Regions from separate parts of the Homo sapiens genome. Here region 1 is linked to region 2. The links are contacts of gene promoters, found by promoter capture Hi-C in human tissues and cell types (Jung and others, 2019). All regions are on one chromosome and are shown on one strand. Each heading gives the region's core, a stretch centred on a gene start or on the middle of the fragment in contact. The rest is flanking DNA. Distances are from core to core; before and after follow the strand shown.

Region 1 (4,360 bases), core at 1,048-3,547, 140 kb before region 2:
GCTGGTCTCAAATTTCTGGCCTCAAGTGATCTACCCACCTTGGCCTCCCAAAGTGCTAGGATTACAGGTGTGACCTACTGCACCCAGCTGCCTTTGTACTTTTCTTTTCTTTTTTTTTTTTGAGATTGAGTTTCACTCTTGTTGCCCAGGCTGGAGTGCAATGGCACAATCTTGGCTCACCACAACCTCTGCCTTCTGGGTTCAAGCGATTCTCCTGCCTCAGCCTCCCAAGTGGCTGGGATTACAGGCATGCGCCACCACGCCCAGGTAATTTTGTATTTTTAGTAGAGATGGGGTTTTTCCATGTTGGTCAGGCTGGTTTTGAACTCCCAACCTCAGGTGATCCGCCCTGACTCAGTCTCCTGAAGTGCTGGGGTTTACAGGTGTGAGACACCGCGCCCAGCCTTCTTTGTGCTTTTCTATATTAACAAATTTTTGAGGCCGGGCATGGTGGTTCATACCTGTAATCCCAGCAAGTCTGGGCGTGGTAGCTCAAGCCTGTAATCCTAGCACTTTGGGAGGCCAAGGTGGGTGGATCACCTGAGATCAGGAGTTCAAGACCAGCATGATCAACATGGTGAAACCCCATCTCTATTAAAAATACAAAAATTAGCCAGGCCTGGTGGCAGGCACCTGTAATCCCAGCTACTCGGGAGGCTGAGGCACAAGAATCACTTGAACCCAGGAGGCGGAGGTTGCAGTGAGCCAAGATCATGCCACTGCACTCCAGCATGGGCGACGGAGCAAGTCTCAAAAAAAAAAGCAACTTTTTGATAGTGAGCATTTATAACTGTTATAAAAAGAAACCTTTATTTTTAAAAAGTTAAATAAATTATGGCACATCAATGTGTGTATGAGTATGTATGTATGCACTCTTTAAGGAAACAAAGCCTTTTACTATTTCTGTGCCTTGGAAAGAAGAATAAGAAGTTTCTGCATCCATGAAGTGGAGGTAACATTCATGTCTAATGTTTGGGGATTGCAGGAAAAAAAAATGGAAGTAACTATGATGCCTACTTCATGTTTGTTTTTTTTTTCTTTCTTTTTGGTGAGGATTTAATGGGTTTGTGTGCTAAGAACAGTTTGTATTAAGTACAGACGGTTTTCAACTTACAGAGTTTCAACTTACTATTTTTTGACTTTAAGATTGAGCGAAAACGATACCATTCAGTAGAAACTGTATTTCCAGTAACCATACAACCATTCTGTTTTTCACTTTCAATATGGTATTAAATAAATTACATGAGATATGCAACACTTTGTGATAAAATAGGCTTTGATTAGATGATTTTGCCCAGCTGTAGGCTAACATAAGTATTCTAAGCACATTTAAGTTAGGCTAGGCTAAGCTAAGATGTTCGGCAGGTTAGGTGTATTAAATGTATTGTGACTTATCTTTTCAGCTTATGACGGTTTTATTGGGACATAACCCCATTGTAAGTTGAGGAGCATCTGTAAAAACATTAGCTATTCCCATTATTATTACTGCAAAAGAGGGTGGATTGGGTTCTTAAGTATCACAGAGGAATGCAATTATTATTATTATTGTTATTTACTTACCTTTAAGAAAGTTCTCATACGTGGATATGTTCTGCCTGTATTGGCTATTGTGACTGTCAGATGAAATGGGAATCTAAGGCTGGGCGCGATGGCTCACACCTGTAATCCCAGCACTTTGGGAGACTCAGATGGGCAGATCATGAGGTCAGGAGTTCGAGACCAGCCTGGCCAATATGGGGAAACCCCCATCTCTACTAAAAAATATAAAAATTATCCGGGCTTGGTGGCACACGCCTGTAGTCCCACCTACTCGGGAGGCTGAGGCAGAAGAACCCAGGAGGCGAGTGTTGCAGTGAGCCGAGATCGCACCACCGCACTCCAGCTTGGGGGACAGAGCGAGATTCTGTCTCAAAAAAAAAAAAAAAAAAGAAAAGAAATAGAATCTAAAAATGCTTGGAAAACTGGATATGCTATACAGATTTAGGGAATTATTATTCCAGCATTGAATTGGGGTCATATTGAAGAAAAAATGATACTTTGCTGCTCTTCCATTCCATTTTTTAGAATTTTATATTTAATATTTTTTCTTTTGCTCTACACATTCAGAGAAACTTCTCTAGTAATGAACTATAGAAATGATCCCAGAAAGCACAGCCTTTGTTCTTCTGTTCTTGTCACTCATTCCTTCCTTGCATATTTTCCTTTTATTTATTTATTCATTTAAGAGACAGTGTCTCACTCTGTCACTCGGGCTAGAGTGCAGTGACACAGTCATAGCTCACTGCAGCCTCAAATTCCTAGGCTCAAGTGATCTTCCTGGCTGAGTGCAGTGGCTCATACCTGTAATCCCAGCACTTGGGGAAGCTGAGGAGGAAGGATCACTTGAGCCCAGGAGTTGGAGACCAGCCTAGGCAACATAGTGAAACCCTCTCTATTTTTTAAAATGAAATATTTGTTTTAAAAGCGTGATCTTCCCACCTCAGCCTCATGAGTAGCTAGGACTACAGGCATGTAGCACCATGCCTGACTAATTTTTAAAAATATTTTTTGTTGAGGCGGGAGTCTTGCTATGTTGCCCAGGCTGGTTGTGAACTCCTGGTCTCAAGCAGTTCTCCCACCTTGGCCTCCCAAAGCACTAGGATTACAGGCATAAGCCACTGTTCCTGGGCCAAATTTTCTGTTTCATCATTCATTCATTTATGCAACAAATACTTGCTGAATGCCTCTGATGTGCCTAGCCCTTTTCTCCCTGCGGGGGGAAGAGGGGTGAGTGAGGCAGATATGGGCTCTGCTGTTATGGGCCTTACAGACTAGTGTGTGTGTCAGAGTGGCAGGCAGGCAGATAACCAGTCAGAGAAAAGAAAGGAGATGTGTGGATAGGCCGGACACGGTGGCTCACACCTGTAATCCAAGCACTTTGGGAGGCTGAGATGGGAGGATCTCTTGAGCCCAGGAGCTTGAGGCTGTAGTAAGCCATGATTGAGACCAGCCTGGGCAACACAGCGAGACCTCATCTCTACAAAATAATTTAAAAATTAGCCAGGCATGGTGGCATATTCCTGTAGTCCCAGCTACGTGGGAGGTGGAGGCAGGAGGTTCACTTGAGCCCAGGAGTTTGAGGCGTCAGTGAGTCATGATCTTGCTACTGCTTTCCAGCCTGGGTCACAGAGTGAGACTGTGTCTCAAAAAAAAAGAAGAAAGGGGCTGTGTAGAGAAAGTAAAACTGGGAGAGGTGACAGAGAGAGAACTCAGTAGGGGGAGGAGAAATCAAGTACGGCCTCATGAAAGAGGGCACAATTGAGAAGGAGGAAGAGCTCAGTAGAGAAAGAACATTCCAAGTGGACGGAACAGCCAATGCAAGGGCCCTGGGGTGAGAACGAGCTGGATTAATTTGATCAGAAGAGGGACTGGAAGTTGGTCAGTCCACTATGTAGAAATAGAAAACCTACAGTTCAAAGAGACCATAAATCCATGATGCAAGAAGTTTCTGTGAGAGGAGCTTGGAAGTCTCCATAGAACCTGTAGAGCTAAAATATCCCTCCAGGTGTAATCAGGTACAGAGCATCTACCTGGACTGTTACAGCCTGCCTGTCAGAGCTGTGACTGTGCTGTTGTCAAGAGCCTAGGACTTGGAGGGAAAAGACCTAGAGTCAAGTCTCGGCTGTTTGATCTTGAGTGAGTCTCATGACCCTCTGGCCCCCAGTCCCTTCTAAAAGTTAGGGATGATGCTACCTGCCTTATAAGGTAGGGTCAGGATTAAATCAGTGAGTGAGCACTTTGTGAAAGATGGCGTGCATGGAAGGGTTGCATATCTTTAGTAAGGGAAGCTTTGAAGCCAAAGTGCAAGTGGGTGGGTCTCCATGTGGAACAGAGTAAGGTGCTGTGTGGCTGGACTCTTGAGCGCTGAGGAGGCTGTGGGCATCCAACCAGGCCAGGGCACCTGTTCTTCACCATCTCATTAACACAGCCAGCATATCTGCATCTGAGATTGGCCCACTATTCTCCTAATAGAGTGTCTTTCCTGTTTCTCTTTTCCATATCCTGTCCAACCTGGTGGGCTTCATAGTTCAGGATGTGTTCAGTGAAGCCATGTCTACACTCACTCTAATCCCCACTGATCTCTCTCTCCTCATGAAAACCCACAAATTATCACCTCATTACTTGTGGATTTGTGTCTTTTCACTATTTCATCTGCCTCCCTGTCTAGATCATAAGCTACTTGGGAGTAAGAACTGTTTTGTTTTTTGTATTCTTTCCACTCCTCCATGGCATTCACTACAACATAAATCATAGAGGTCAGAACATACTGAAGTGCATTTTGAGTTAAAATGCTCAAAAGTGATCTTAGTGACACGTGTTT
Region 2 (4,367 bases), core at 1,576-4,075:
GAGGTCCAACGGCTGCAGGAATGGGGGCAGCGGCAGCTCGTCCAGGGCCTCGGGGAAGCGGCCTGGAGAGATGGCGGTGACCAGCACCTGCATGGCGCGCGCGAAGAGCGAGGGCGGCGCCAGGCCCGCCAGCCACTGGAACTTGTCCTCACCCAGCAGCCGCTGCCAGCGCGGCCGGTCGCCCAGCAGCTCCTGGCGGGCCGAGCCGGCGGCACCCACGGGGGTGTACAGCGCCAGGAGGTCCAGCAGCAGCAGGCGGCGCTGGCGCGGCTCCCCGGGAGCTGAGGCGGGGGCTCCGGCGGCGGAGGGAGTGGCCCCGGCGTCGCGGCCCAGCTGGCGCAGCAGCAGCTCGAGAGGCGTGAGGCCGCCGCCGTCCCGCAGACCGGGCGAGGCGCCGTGGCCCAGCAGCAGGAAGAGGCACTCGGGGCGCGCCAGCTCACAGGCCACGTGCAGCGACGTGCCACCGCCCTCCACGCGGCTGCAGCCACGCCGGTCCAGCACGCGCGCCCGCTCCTCGGCCGGGAAGTCGCGCAAGGTGCGCAGGATGCGGCGCAGAATGCCCACGCGGTTGTAGCGCACTGCCAGCGCCACGTGCGGCCCGGGAGCCGCGCAGCAGCGGAAGCCGGCACTGGGCGGTGCGAGCGCGCGCCGCGGGAACGTGGCCAGCAGGTAATGCGCGTACGCTTGGTGGTCGTGCACGAGCGCGTAGAGCAGCGCCTCAGAGGGCGAGTAGGCGGCGGCGCGCCCGCGCTCGTCCCAGTGGAAGGCCTCGCTGGCGCGCATATCCTCCAGCAGCCACACGGGTAGCAGGTCGCGCACCGCCTGGTAGAAGGCGAACGACGACTTGCGGCACTGCTTCTGCGCTCGCGAGCGCGCCGCGCCCGAGGCCTCGGGCCCGCCGTCCGCGCCACCCCCAGGCCGCCGCGCGTCCCACGGCATGCTGGCGGCGGGGCGTTCCTGGGCCTCAAGGCATGGATCCCGCGAAGGCACACCTGCGGGGAAAGGAAGAGGCCACGGTGAGGCGCGGGGAAACTGGGGAGGCCCGGGGACTCCCCTCTGCCCCTCACACAGCCCCTCCGGTCCTGGCCCACCAGGCCTGTACCTACCTCCAGCCTCGGCCAGGCCCTTCCAGTCACCCTACAGCTCCATCTCTCCGACGCCCAGAACCACCGCCTCCATCCTTGATCTAGCTGTACCTGTTCTCCCTCCTTGAAACTGACTTGCTCTCTGGCACCTCTGCTGGAAATGCCCTTGCTGCCCATGCCCTCAAATCTCCCCTCCCCTCTCCAACCCAGGGACCCACTGGAAGAGCTTCTGTTCCCACCTAAGCCAGGTTCATACGACCCCAAATAAAGAAAAGGCCAGGGAGGGGATGAGAAAGCTTGGGCCCACATCTCAAGCTGAGGCAAATCCACTCTCCAGCCCAAGCGCAACCCTGACCCTGATCTCCGACCCCAGACCACTTGGAGGCCCCTGGAGCCTCTTCCTGGGCTGTTCAGAGGCATGATCCAGACTCAGACCTACCTGGTTCCTGCACCGCGATCACCTAGTTCCGGGGATGTGGGTATATCACAGTCCCTGGCCGAGCCTCAGCTTTATCTGTAAGAAAGGGGAGGGGTGGACGACGGCTGTGCGGGCGGGGTGAGCCTGGGGCGTGGCACCAGCCCTCTATCCAAACATGTTTGCTTACACGTTAGCTCCTGGGAGGAGATAGGAGGGTGAAAACAACCTGGAGACCGGTGTGCACCGCACTGCACAGTCTGCCATCCTCTTCAGGTCCCATACCTCTCTTGATCTCCCCGACTACTAGATGAAGCGGGTACTGCCATCCCACTTTCCAGCAGGGCACAAGCTTCTCCAATTCTCCAAGGTCAGCAAGCCACGGCAGAGCCAGGCCTAGAACTCAGGTCCCCTGCGTCTCAGTTTGGGCTCATTCCAGAATTGGTGGGGACCCCCAACCCACAGGCAATCGAGCTTAGGCCCTGACCCTGCCCTCTGAGTCCCCAGCCCCGACCTGAGCCTAGGCGTCTGACCTCTGGCTCCGTCCCAACCTCCCTACTGCCTTCTTTCAAGGGTAAGCCCTTGGTCACAAGGGGCCTGGGACAGAAGGCAGGCCGCGTCCACACACACTGACTGGGTCACTATCACTGGCAGTAACTGAGTTAAAGAGAGCGGCGCGGTGCGGGTAGGCTGTGGCCCGTGGGCAACACCGTGACTGGAGCCCCTTCCCCAAGCCTGGGCCTCCGGGCCCCAGATATGCCCTGTGCCGGCACGCGTGGGGCGCCGGGCGGGTTACGTAAAGTTCGGCCTCCCCACGTCACCGGGCAGAGTCACGGCCGCGGCTCGTGAATAAGGGGGTTGGGCCATCGAAGGCAGCGCCGCGCCCGGGGCCACCCGCCACCTCCTACCCGTCCCCTCCCGGCCTGCACGGCCAGACGTCGGGCGGCGGAGGGTCGCGGGGCCGAGCGGGGCGTCCGCGCGCAGGTGGCCGGCGCAGCGAGGGCTGCACCTGCGTGCGCGTGTGCCGGAGGAGGAGGGGGCGGCGGCCGCGGGCGCGGCGCGGGGGACGGGGACTCACCATGGGGGGCGCGGGGGCCACAGGCCGGGCGTCCCCGCCCCTGCCGCGGACCGGAGCGCGCGCTGTCCCCCGCGGGCGAGCGGGCAAAGGTCCCACGACGGACGCACGGGAGGGAGCCACCGCCGCCCGCGCCCGCCGCAGCCGCGCTCTGAGCCGCCGCGGCCGGATCGCAGGGCGGCGGTGCCGTCGCCGGCGGCGGGCGGCGGGCGGCGGGCGGCGGGCGGCGCAGTGCGGCCCCGGCCAGGCAGGACAGCGGGACCGTCCGCCGCCGCCATTGGCCCGCGCCGCCGGCCCCCGCCACCACCCATTGGCCGCCGCGCTGCACCATTGTTACGTCACTGGCCGGCGGGCGGGGCGCACCGCTGGACCCGCGGAAAACTTCGGAGAAACTTGAGGGAGCGCCGGCGGGGAGAACGGAGAGGAGGGGCGGGGCCGTGGCGAAAGGGGCGGGGCGTTGATGGGCGGGGGCGGGGCTCCCGGAACCCGAGCTGCGGGCGAAGAAAGGCTCCGAGCTCCGAGCTGCCCTAGCCCGGGAGGGCGCCGCTGCTCTGCGAACTCGGGCGCGCGCGTAGGTGGCCCGCCCTCCGCCGTGCGTGACTTTCCTCGTCGCGTCCAGCTCCCCTTTTCTTTGACCTTACGTGACCTTGGGAAAAACCTCCAGGCTGCTACCCCATCTGCACATGGGAGGGCCGGGGGTAGGAGCCGCGACCCCTAAGGGCTCCACCGCCTTCTGCCCGGCCAGGGTCGTGCCTGGCGCGCCCCCGCTCCAGCTGACCCGCGCAAGGGAGGGAGGGGCGGACGGATGGGGACAGCTGTTTAGGAGCGCGCACTGCGCCCATCTCGGCCTCAACACTCATGTTTCCACTTCGTTTCACGACCACCAGCCACAGTGGACACGATGATCCCCAGTTCACCCGCCAGCAAATCAGGGCTCAGAGAGGTGGCCTCAAAGAGAGGAGCGGCCAGGAGGGAAGCCGGGGGTTTGCCCTGCGGTTCTTCCCACATCTGGGCGGGATAGATTCGATTGGGCCTCGGCCACCCCCACCGTCTCCGTCGGGGGTTCCAAGGTTTGGGGTCATGACCTAGGGGGCTTAGGAGCCTGGGTCCATCTCAACTAATTTATGGCCTCACTCGCCCCCAGCGGCTGGGAATTCTAGGCCCATTTTACAGATGTGGACGCAGATCTGGAGAGGGGCAATGACTGCTCAACCCCCCACCCATCCTCCCAGACACGACCTTCCACCTGGAATCCCCCCACACACGTTCTCAGAGGCCAGGCAGCCGGGGTCTCATGGTGAAATCCCCACATTCCATGCAGGGGCTCTTTCTGGTTCCTTCCCTAGAATGCTGTCCCTGCCCTTCCAGTACTATCTCACCAGGGAGACCCTCCCACTCCCCCACTCCGCTCCAACCAAGCAAGGCCTCTGCCTCGCCCCGGTGGGAGGGGCCTCGTCCAGAGGGCACGCCCCTGCACACACAATCAGCCCTGTCCTGGCTTCTCTGTGTGCCCCAGCCAGTCAGTCTGGGTGGAAGTCTTACCTGGGCCCTCTCAACAGACCTAGGCAGGCCTCTGTCCCCAGCCCAACGAGCTCAATCCCTTAAGCACACACGCCACAGAGCAGTCCTGAGAGGCCAGGTGGACAGTACCATGAGGCAGACAAAGCTGTGAGGCCCAGAGAGGGTCAGGCCACCCCAGCCCAGGTAGGCACTCACATGTATCCTGCCCAGGCTGCCATGCATGGACCCACCAGGGGGATGACCAGACCCCACCAGCCCTGCCCCACCTCAG

Evidence for each region. The method cuts DNA at HindIII sites, captures the fragments that hold promoters and counts their contacts. A contact is called where the count stands out against the background at its distance.
Region 1: a contact is called between a fragment that was not itself captured here and the fragment with the promoter of ANKRD9 in region 2, in 1 of the 25 tissues and cell types used here (hippocampus).

What each region holds. Positions count from the first base shown.
Region 1 is chr14:102,372,162-102,376,521 of GRCh38, forward strand. The region is part of intron 1 of TECPR2 (tectonin beta-propeller repeat containing 2); the gene reads left to right. All of the region lies in intron 1 of LOC124903389 (a long non-coding RNA gene), which reads right to left. It also overlaps the pseudogene LOC124903440. Among named protein-coding and RNA genes, the nearest start is that of TECPR2, 11 kb to the left of the region's middle. RefSeq lists enhancers at 3,178-3,237, 3,268-3,337. The HindIII fragment of the contact is 8,045 bases long and covers 1-4,360 here.
Region 2 is chr14:102,506,951-102,511,317 of GRCh38, forward strand. It overlaps ANKRD9 (ankyrin repeat domain 9), which reads right to left and starts at 2,826. Exons shown (of 4, transcript NM_152326.4): 1 at 2,579-2,826; 2 at 1,691-1,896; 3 at 1,525-1,599; 4 at 1-992. The coding sequence starts at 939. It overlaps LOC105370679 (a long non-coding RNA gene), which reads left to right and starts at 3,093. Exons shown (of 4, transcript XR_007064352.1): 1 at 3,093-4,367. RefSeq lists silencers at 1,614-1,775, 2,770-3,209, 3,370-3,419 and enhancers at 2,900-3,543, 3,544-4,189, 4,190-4,367. The HindIII fragment of the contact is 3,197 bases long and covers 1,617-4,367 here.